2 separate regions of the Homo sapiens genome follow, and region 1 is linked to region 2. The links are contacts of gene promoters, found by promoter capture Hi-C in blood cells and fetal thymus (Javierre and others, 2016). All regions are on one chromosome and are shown on one strand. The core of a region is centred on a gene start or on the middle of the fragment in contact, and the rest is flanking DNA. Distances in the headings are between cores, read along the strand shown. Region 1 has its middle 42 kb from the start of TMEM30B. Region 2 holds the start of SIX4 (SIX homeobox 4).

What was found. The method cuts DNA at HindIII sites, captures the fragments that hold promoters and counts their contacts. A CHiCAGO score of 5 or more calls a contact.
Region 1: a fragment that was not itself captured here is called in contact with the fragment with the promoter of SIX4 in region 2 in 3 of 17 cell types (endothelial precursors, M0 macrophages and M1 macrophages); the score reaches 10.4 in endothelial precursors.

The regions. Positions count from the first base shown.
Region 1 is chr14:61,237,238-61,241,493 of GRCh38, forward strand. It overlaps a transcript of PRKCH not described here. Among named protein-coding and RNA genes, the nearest start is that of TMEM30B, 42 kb to the right of the region's middle. The HindIII fragment of the contact is 795 bases long and covers 1,602-2,396 here.
Region 2 is chr14:60,722,928-60,726,843 of GRCh38, forward strand. It overlaps SIX4 (SIX homeobox 4), which reads right to left and starts at 1,424. Exons shown (of 3, transcript NM_017420.5): 1 at 285-1,424. The coding sequence starts at 1,147. RefSeq lists a silencer at 837-906. The HindIII fragment of the contact is 4,809 bases long and covers 1-2,130 here.

The DNA of each region.
Region 1 (4,256 bases), core at 749-3,248, 510 kb after region 2:
GTTTCAAAAAAAAAAAAAAAAAGATACCAAATTCCAGCCTAACTCTAGTATAGCATCACATGACAGATAGCAGGCCCTAAAAGAAATTGAAGTATTTTACCCTAAAATATATTTCTTTGACATATTTTGAAATGACCTTACAAAGCTGTCTCTTGTGAAAAAAATCTACATTCTGTAGAGAACTCCTTTCCCTTTCCAGGTCTTCATCCTGATCGAGGAGAGAATTAACTAAGAGTCTGACAGCTTTTTAAGTCTGACAAGAAACATTTACAATCTATTCTCTCTGAATCCTGTTACCTGGAGGCTTCATCTGCATAATAAGAACTTTGGTCTCCACAACCCCTTATCTTAACCCAGACGCTCCTTTCTATGGATTCAGGGCTTTAGATAAACTCTTTCAATCAATCGTCAATCGGAAAATCTTTGAATCCACCTATGACCCAGAAACCTGGAACTTTCTCCCCCAACCCTTACCTCCAGTTGTCCCCCTTTTCCTGACCAAACCAATGTACACCTTACATGTATTGATTGATGTCTTAGTGTCCTGTGTCTCCCTAAAATGTATAAAACCAAACTGTAACCCAACCATCTTGGGCACTTGCGGTCAGGCCTTCCTGAAGCATGTCCTTAACCTTGGCAAAATAAACTCCTAAACTGATTGAGACTTGTCTTAGATACTTTTTGGTTTACAGAGGTATAGAAACAACTGTATTGGTTACAGCTTGGCACTTGCCTTGTTTAAACAAGGCTTGAAGAGTTGGCTGCCTGTGATTGGCTGAGATACAGCAACTTGTTGCAAAGTAGTAACAGTCTGTTTATACATCCAGTTAGGTTAGGGTTCACTATGTATGGAGAAACCTTTAGGCCAAACTTAAACTATGTAAGTAGGCAGCTTTAGACTAAATTAATTTAACATCTTAATTCTGTCAACTCTTACTTTCCTAACTATAGCCTCCATTAGGACTTTACAGACAGGTTTTGAAATCACAGTACATTGGGTTCCTGTGTCAAGGAGCCCTGGAAATTCTCCACCCCTGACCATTTTACCCACTCTTGTGCAAAAGGCCTTTGGGTCCCTGACAGGAGATTGAGCCAAGGGACCCCAGCCCTTTTGTCAATCTTTTTCTTGATTAATCTGCCTGAGTGTTGCTTGAGGCAATTTTAGATCATTTTTCTCATTATAATCTTTGCCTCCTAACTTTTCATATTTCTCCAAACTAGGGTAAATTCAGCAAACTTGTTTGGAGCCCTTTAATGTTGCAGGACCAGCTGGGGCTCCTGTTGGTCCATCCAACCTTAAGAGCTTTGTTTTGACCCCACACATTTACATTTTATTCACCTCATTTCTTGGTAACCATATAAAGATTTCCACCTTGCTCAGACAAATCCCCTGACTCTCCTCTTTTTCCGTTTAGTTTCACCTTTATCAATGTTTTCTTTATTCACCTTATTTCTTAATAACCATTTAAAAATGTCCACCTTCCTGGAAAGTTCTTTTACTCTCTTCTCTGTCTTTTCCCCATTCTCTTGTTAATTAATCTAACGTTTTCATTAGCATCTGTAAGACCCGTGAAGGGAAGCTGTGACAACAAACTGGGTAAAGCTTCTCGAACTTTCTTTTGGGTTTGCAAAACAGTACGGTTATATGGGGATCTCCATTAAAGGAGCCCCCTGAATAACAGAATTTACCATAATTCATCAGGTGAATATCCCAGTCATTATAAAGCTGGTCCCACATGGCTTGCATATGAAGCATATTAGCTGCTGTAACTGGAGTGTTCCAATTAGCATTTCTAGGTGGAGTCAGGCAATCTCCCTCCTCAGAGTAAACAGACCTTAAAATGGCTTTTATCAAGTTCACCAGGCTCGCTGTTCCCTCAGGAATCACCTCCTGTTCATGACTGTTCCATAGCGAGCTGTGGATATTGCATCAACCCAAACATACTCTTCCACCCTGCAGCATTTAAAACCAAAGATACTGCCCCTAAATTAGTTAACTGTCACAATCCATTTTACTAAGGGTTCTTCAGGAAGCTGATGATACTGCAAGGCTCTTGTATTGGTTCAAACCCCGAGAGCGGGCCAACAAACAAGACAAGGTGGTGTGGAGCAACACGCTGATTTAATGAGCGCCTGGGTGCAGGTGGGCTGAGGCCTAAAATGGCGTCAGCACCAAATGAGGACAGGGCAGGGGTTTTATAGTCTCCTGTAAACAGGAAGTGTCTCAATCTGATGTAACTGCTTCGAGGTACCCGGATGGCCTCTCTCTCCCTCTTCAGGGGGTACGTGTCTTCCGGCCAGCTCTCTTCCTGCTTCTGCTATCTTGCTAAAGCAGGCTAATGTGCTCTTGCGCCTTGGGACTGGGCCTGAGAAGGGAGGAGTTATTCATTCCCTTAAGCTTTCAGGCTCTGGGGAGAATCTTTCAGATACCAGTCTACAAAATGAAACAATTCCTTCACACTAAACCCTCTGGTTTCAATAGCTTCTTTGTTTTGCCCTTACCACACACTGACTACCTTCTTGGTAAACACAGGTCTTAGAGGTGCTTTCTGTAGTCCTGGCATAATTTTTTCTGGGAGATGGCTCTGAGGCTAATGACTGAAGTTCTAACTCACTGAAGTCTGCACTGGGGGTAGCATCAAGATCTGACCCAGCACTGTCTTTTGATTTCATTTTAGCTATTACAGATAGCAATAACCACACAATTGTATATTTTACTTTTTTGTTGTTTATTATAAGTTTGCATTTCTTTATGCATCCAGCAAACCAACTGTCCAGGAGTTGAATGCATCTCTAAATTTCACTGGAGGTTTTGCCATTAGTAACTGAGTGCAACACAGCTACTGCCTCATATCATGGTGATACGGCTCCAGTGACTGTAGAAACACCGTGGGTCCTTTGTCTCACACTGATAAGATTGACACGGACACACGTGGAGTGATTTTAAGGAGTAAAAAGTTTAATAGGCAAGAAAGAAGAAAGAAGAAAACAGCTCCCCTGTACAGAGGGAGGGAGGGAGCCTCCAAACAGAGAAACCCCACATGCCGCAGAAAGCAGTTGGTTATATTGGGAGGTTGGAGGAAGCGGTGTCTGATTTGCACAGGGCTCAGGGGATTCGTTTAACCAGCTGTGTCATTCATGTAGCCCTCGAAAAAACCCTCCCACCCTAGCTTTTAATACGCAAATGCGAGTTGCCATGAAGTCCTGCACATGTGGTGTTACCTGGAGGTGGCCATGGCACCTGCCACACGTGGTGACAAGGATAAGAGGGCAGGACTGCCAGTTGGGTGGACCTGGTTTCTAGCCATCTGCATTTGCATATCAATGATTGCCAGTCTGGTTTTTCAAGCCTCTTTCGGTTAGAAAGGAAATGGTTCGGGGGTTGCTCTTTATTAAAGGAAAGTTCCACCGAGAACCTTCACCCTTTCCAGCTGCCTAAAAATTATTTCTTAACAGCTCCTGTATTAATAGGTGGCCATATGGTCACCTGAGAATCATATTTATCACCCTCCACCCATTTGTCCTTTTTACCCAAAATCACATGTTCCTGTGAGTCAGAGGCCAGGCTAGTAAATCCCACTTCTGACACCAAATCTGAGGCTATTGAGGAAAAACAAACTCAGTTTCTCCTACTATACTCTCACAACACAGAACACTTCAGTAACTAAATGTGTGAGGTTTTTTCCCCACACACCAAGCAAGCGTCAATTCTACAGCTCTAATTCAATTCTGACACTATGTACCTGGAGGTACCATCAGATCCCACAGGTTGAGAACTCAGTTCTAGAAGACTGGCCTTCACTTCAGATGCCAGTTGCAAGTCTGGGTCTCTGGGATAAGTCAGGATTCCCACAACGCCCTCCTTGAATTCAATTAATTTGCCAAAGTGGCTCACAGAACTCAGGAAATACTTACTTACATTTACTGGTTTATTATAAGGGTTACTACAAAGGACACAGATAAAGAAGTGTATAGGGTGAGGTTATGTGAGGAAGGGGCACAGAATTTCCATGTCCTCTCTGGGTGCACCACCTTCCAGGACCCTCCACATGTCCAGCTATCCAGAAGTCCCCTGAACCCAGTCTTTTGGCAGGGTTTTATGGAAGCCTCATTACATAGGCATGATTGATTAAATCATTGATCATTGGTAATCAACTTAACCTTCATCCCCTCTCCACTCTCCAGAGGTTGTGGGATGGGCTGAAAGTCCCAACTCTTTGCTCATGCCTTGGACTTTCCTGTGATCATCCCCCATC
Region 2 (3,916 bases), core at 174-2,673:
AGCAGTGACCAGCCGAGGTGGGGGCGGGGACTGAGACCTAGGCGGGCGACCAGAAACTTCTGGGGGGAGAGGGGGAGGGTAAGGAGGGAGGTTCCCCCGCCCCCCGCCTCCGCCGCCCCCTACCTCTGCCGGCCGGGGAGCGAGGTAGGGGGCGGGGAGAGGTGGGCAGCCGGACCAGGCTGGTGGGGAAGGTAAGCGCCATGTTTGCGAGCACTTGGAGGAAAAGAAAGCCGGGAAGGGGGTGGGGGAGAGGAAGGGGGAGGAGGAGGAAAGTTGGCGCTCACCTTTTGGACTGGGTCTCGGAGGGGTTCCTGTCGCGCTGCCGGCGGTTCTTGAACCAGTTGCTGACCTGGGTGAGGGAGAGGCCGGTGATCTTGGCCAGGTGCCGCTTCTCGGCGGGCGAAGGGTAGCGATTCTGCTTGTAGAGCTCCTTGAGCGCGTTGCGCGACTTCTCCTTGAAACAATACACCGTCTCCTCGCCGTCCCAGATGGTGCGGGGCAGGGGGAATTTCCTGCGCAGCCGGTACTTGTCTACGGCTCCCAGCGGCCGGCCGCGGGCTCGCTCGGCCTCGGTGTAGCGCGCCTTGTACCAGAGCTGCTGCAGCAGCGGGTGGTTGGCCGACTCGAAGCTGTGGCTCTCGAGGATGCTGTAGAGCTCGGGGTAGATGCCCTGGTGGAAGGCCACGAGCGCCCGCGCCTTCAGCAGGCTCTCGTTGCCACGTAGCAGGTCGCTCTGGGGCAGGGACCACAGGAACCGGGCCAGGCGGTCCAGGTTGCCCCCCTGCTGCAGTGCCTCGCACACGCAGGCGACGTGGTCGGGCGAGAAGGCCAGCGGGGTCTGCGCGGCGGCGGCGGCGGCGTGGTGGTGCCTGCCCAGAAGTTCCGAGTGGAGTTGTACCTGATCCGCCGCCGCTCCGGCCGCCGCCGCCGCCACTGCCCCTTCCTCTCCGCTCACCCTGGCGGCAGCGGTCGCGGCGTCCCCCGGCTCCAGGGGAAAAGGGGCTGGAGCCGGGGGGCTCAGCCCTACCGCCGCGCCCCCCGCCACTTCTCGGTGCGCCTCCTGCCCTTCCGAGGCGCTTTCCATCCCATTCTCTTGCTTGATGTCCGCCGCACTTGCGATCTGCCCGGTGGGGGAGGAAGAGGACATTTTTTGTTGTTTATTTTCCTCCCTCCCTCACTCCCTCGCACTCTTTTCCTCTTTCTTTCCTCCTCTCTTACTCCTCCTCCTTCGTCTCCCTCCCTCCTCTCCCCCTCCGGAAAGCCCACTCCCTCCCTCCTGGTTTCGGCTGTATCTGGCCGATCAGGTTTCCCCCCGGCCACGCAGTCACCATTAAGATAGCTGTTAGAGCAAAGTAGTGTAAACGGATAGCTGCTTTCTGCCGTTCCCCCAACGTGACTCCTCCGGTTGCTGCATACTATATGGCAGTGGCGGCCGGGCCGGCCCGGCCTAGCCACCTCATTGGCTATTTCGCATTCAGAGGGAGGAGGAGACACAGTTTCTATCCCTGTCGATCACCCGCCTCCCACTCCACCCCTCGCCTTTCCCTCCCCTCCTGACCCCCAGGCACCTATACCTGAAGGAAAACACCGACATTCTTTCCAAGCCACGCTCCTGGGCGGGAAATTACCTAATGTGGCCTGAAAACTGGACAACTCTTTCAAACAGAGGCCCTACAATTCCAGAGGGAATATTAATTGTGTGGCCTTAAGGTCTGGATGGTTAAATTTTTAACAAAGAGACCACCCTCAGCATCTAGATGACAAAACTTCAGAGGACAATTCAGAAGCCCCCCAGTATGTCCCTGTTCCCCATTCTCCCTCTTTTTGGATGTCTTTATCAAGGATTTTGTATTCAAAACGGTCAAAAATAAAATGACACTAGGAAATGTTCTAAGGGGCAAGCATTTACAGTAAATTAAAATTCCAAAGAGGGAAAAATGCTTGAAAACCTTATAATTAGCAGCATAAATAGCACACTGAGAAGACAAAAACAAGAAGCCTTCAAAAAATGTACTTAACCTTAAGCCACGTGGAGGGCTGGCAACCCAACTGAGTTGAACATGGTATAATTAAACATGTAGAATATTAAACCATAAGTTTATCCTGGATGAGTCGTGTGGAAGAGATCTAAGCTTTAAATATGGAAATTTAAGTTTTCTACATGAACTTTTTAATGTAAGTATATGAGTATTTCTTTTTTAACGATGATAGGCTAGAAACACTGAATGTGCGGGTGTCATCCAGATCAGTGCAGGATCAGAAGCCCTTTTCCACAGCATAGACAGATTGCCCTCTGGTTTGATGCTGAAGTGGGGGTAGAGTCTTTTGTTGTTTGCAGTTGTGTCTCTTTCCTTTGTAATTTGCACAAGATCTTAATTCCAAAAGGGATGATCCATTTCTGCTTCTTTGATTACTGTAGGTCAGTTGGGTTTGCCTGCTGCTGCTCTTTCTCAAAATTCAACTTTTTTTCCCCCCGAGATGGAGTCTCGCTCTGTCGCCCAGGCTGGAGTGCAGTGGTGTGATCTCGGCTCACTGCAAGCTCCGCCTCCTGGGTTCACGCCATTCTCCTGCCTCAGCCTCCCGAGTAGCTGGGACTACAGGCGCCCGCCACCACGCCCAGCTAATTTTTTTTTTTTTTTTTTTTTTGTATTTTTTAGTAGAGACGGGGTTTCACCACGTTAGCCAGGATGGTCTCGATCTCCTGACCTCGTGATCCGTCCGCCTCGGCCTCTCAAAATTCAACATTTTAATGACATCATCCTAACCTTTGCTTCAGGGTGGCCTTGTATTGTGTATGCTTCCCAGCTACTCATAGCTGCCTACTTCAGCATATTACAAAGCAGCTGTCTAGGTCACCTGCCGTCATGATAAACTTGGTGAGATTTTCTTTTTTTTTGTAGACAGGCTTTATTTTATTGCTGGTCAATCAAGATGTCATTTGATGTAGGATTTAACTTGTTTTTGCATTACCCTAATGTGTTGACATCGCTGGTAGATTTAAAATTTATAACAACAGAAAAGGCCATATTATTTATTTGCTTATTTATTTATTTATTTATTTATTTATTTTTTGAGATGGAGTCTCACTCTGTTGCCCGGGCTGGAGTGCAGTGGCGTGATCTTGGCTCACTGCAACCTCTGCCTCCCGGGTTCAAGCGATTCTCCTGCCTCAGTCTCCTGAGTAGCTGGCACTACAGGCGCGTGCCACCATGCCCGACTAATTTTTTATATTTTTAGTAGAGATGGGGTTTCATCGTGTTAGCCAGGATGGTCTCGATCTCCTGACCTCGTGATCCGCCCGCCTCGATCTCCCAAAGTGCTGGGATTACAGGCGTGAGCCACCGCGCCCGGCCAAGACCATGTGTTTCTACTCCACTGGAAACATCCAGTTAGGTACCAAGCTTCAGGACAATAACTGAGATTCAGAACTTCCTTGAATTTTTGTTTGCTTGTTTGTTTTTGTTTGAGACAGGGTCTCTCTCTGATGCCCAGGCTGAAGTGCAGTGGCATGATCTCAGCTCACTGCAACCTGCCCCTCCTGGTTTCAAGTGATTCTCCTGCATCAGCCTCCCGAGTAGCTGGGATTACAGGCACCTGCCAACCACACCCAGCTAATTTTTGTATTTTTAGTAGAGATGGGGTTTCACCATGTTGGCCAGGCTGGTCTTAAATTCCTGACCTCAAGTGATCCGCCCACCTCAGTCTCCCAGAGTGCTGGGATTAGAGGCATGAGCCACCACACCTGGCCAAATTTTTTTAAAAATATATTTTTTATTTGGAATGCTTTTCATTTACAGAAAAGTTACCAAAATAGTAGAGTTTCCACTTACCTTTCACCTAGTTCCCTTTAATTTTAACATCTTACATGATAATGCTATATTTATCTAAACAAATTAACATTGGCGCATTTCTATTA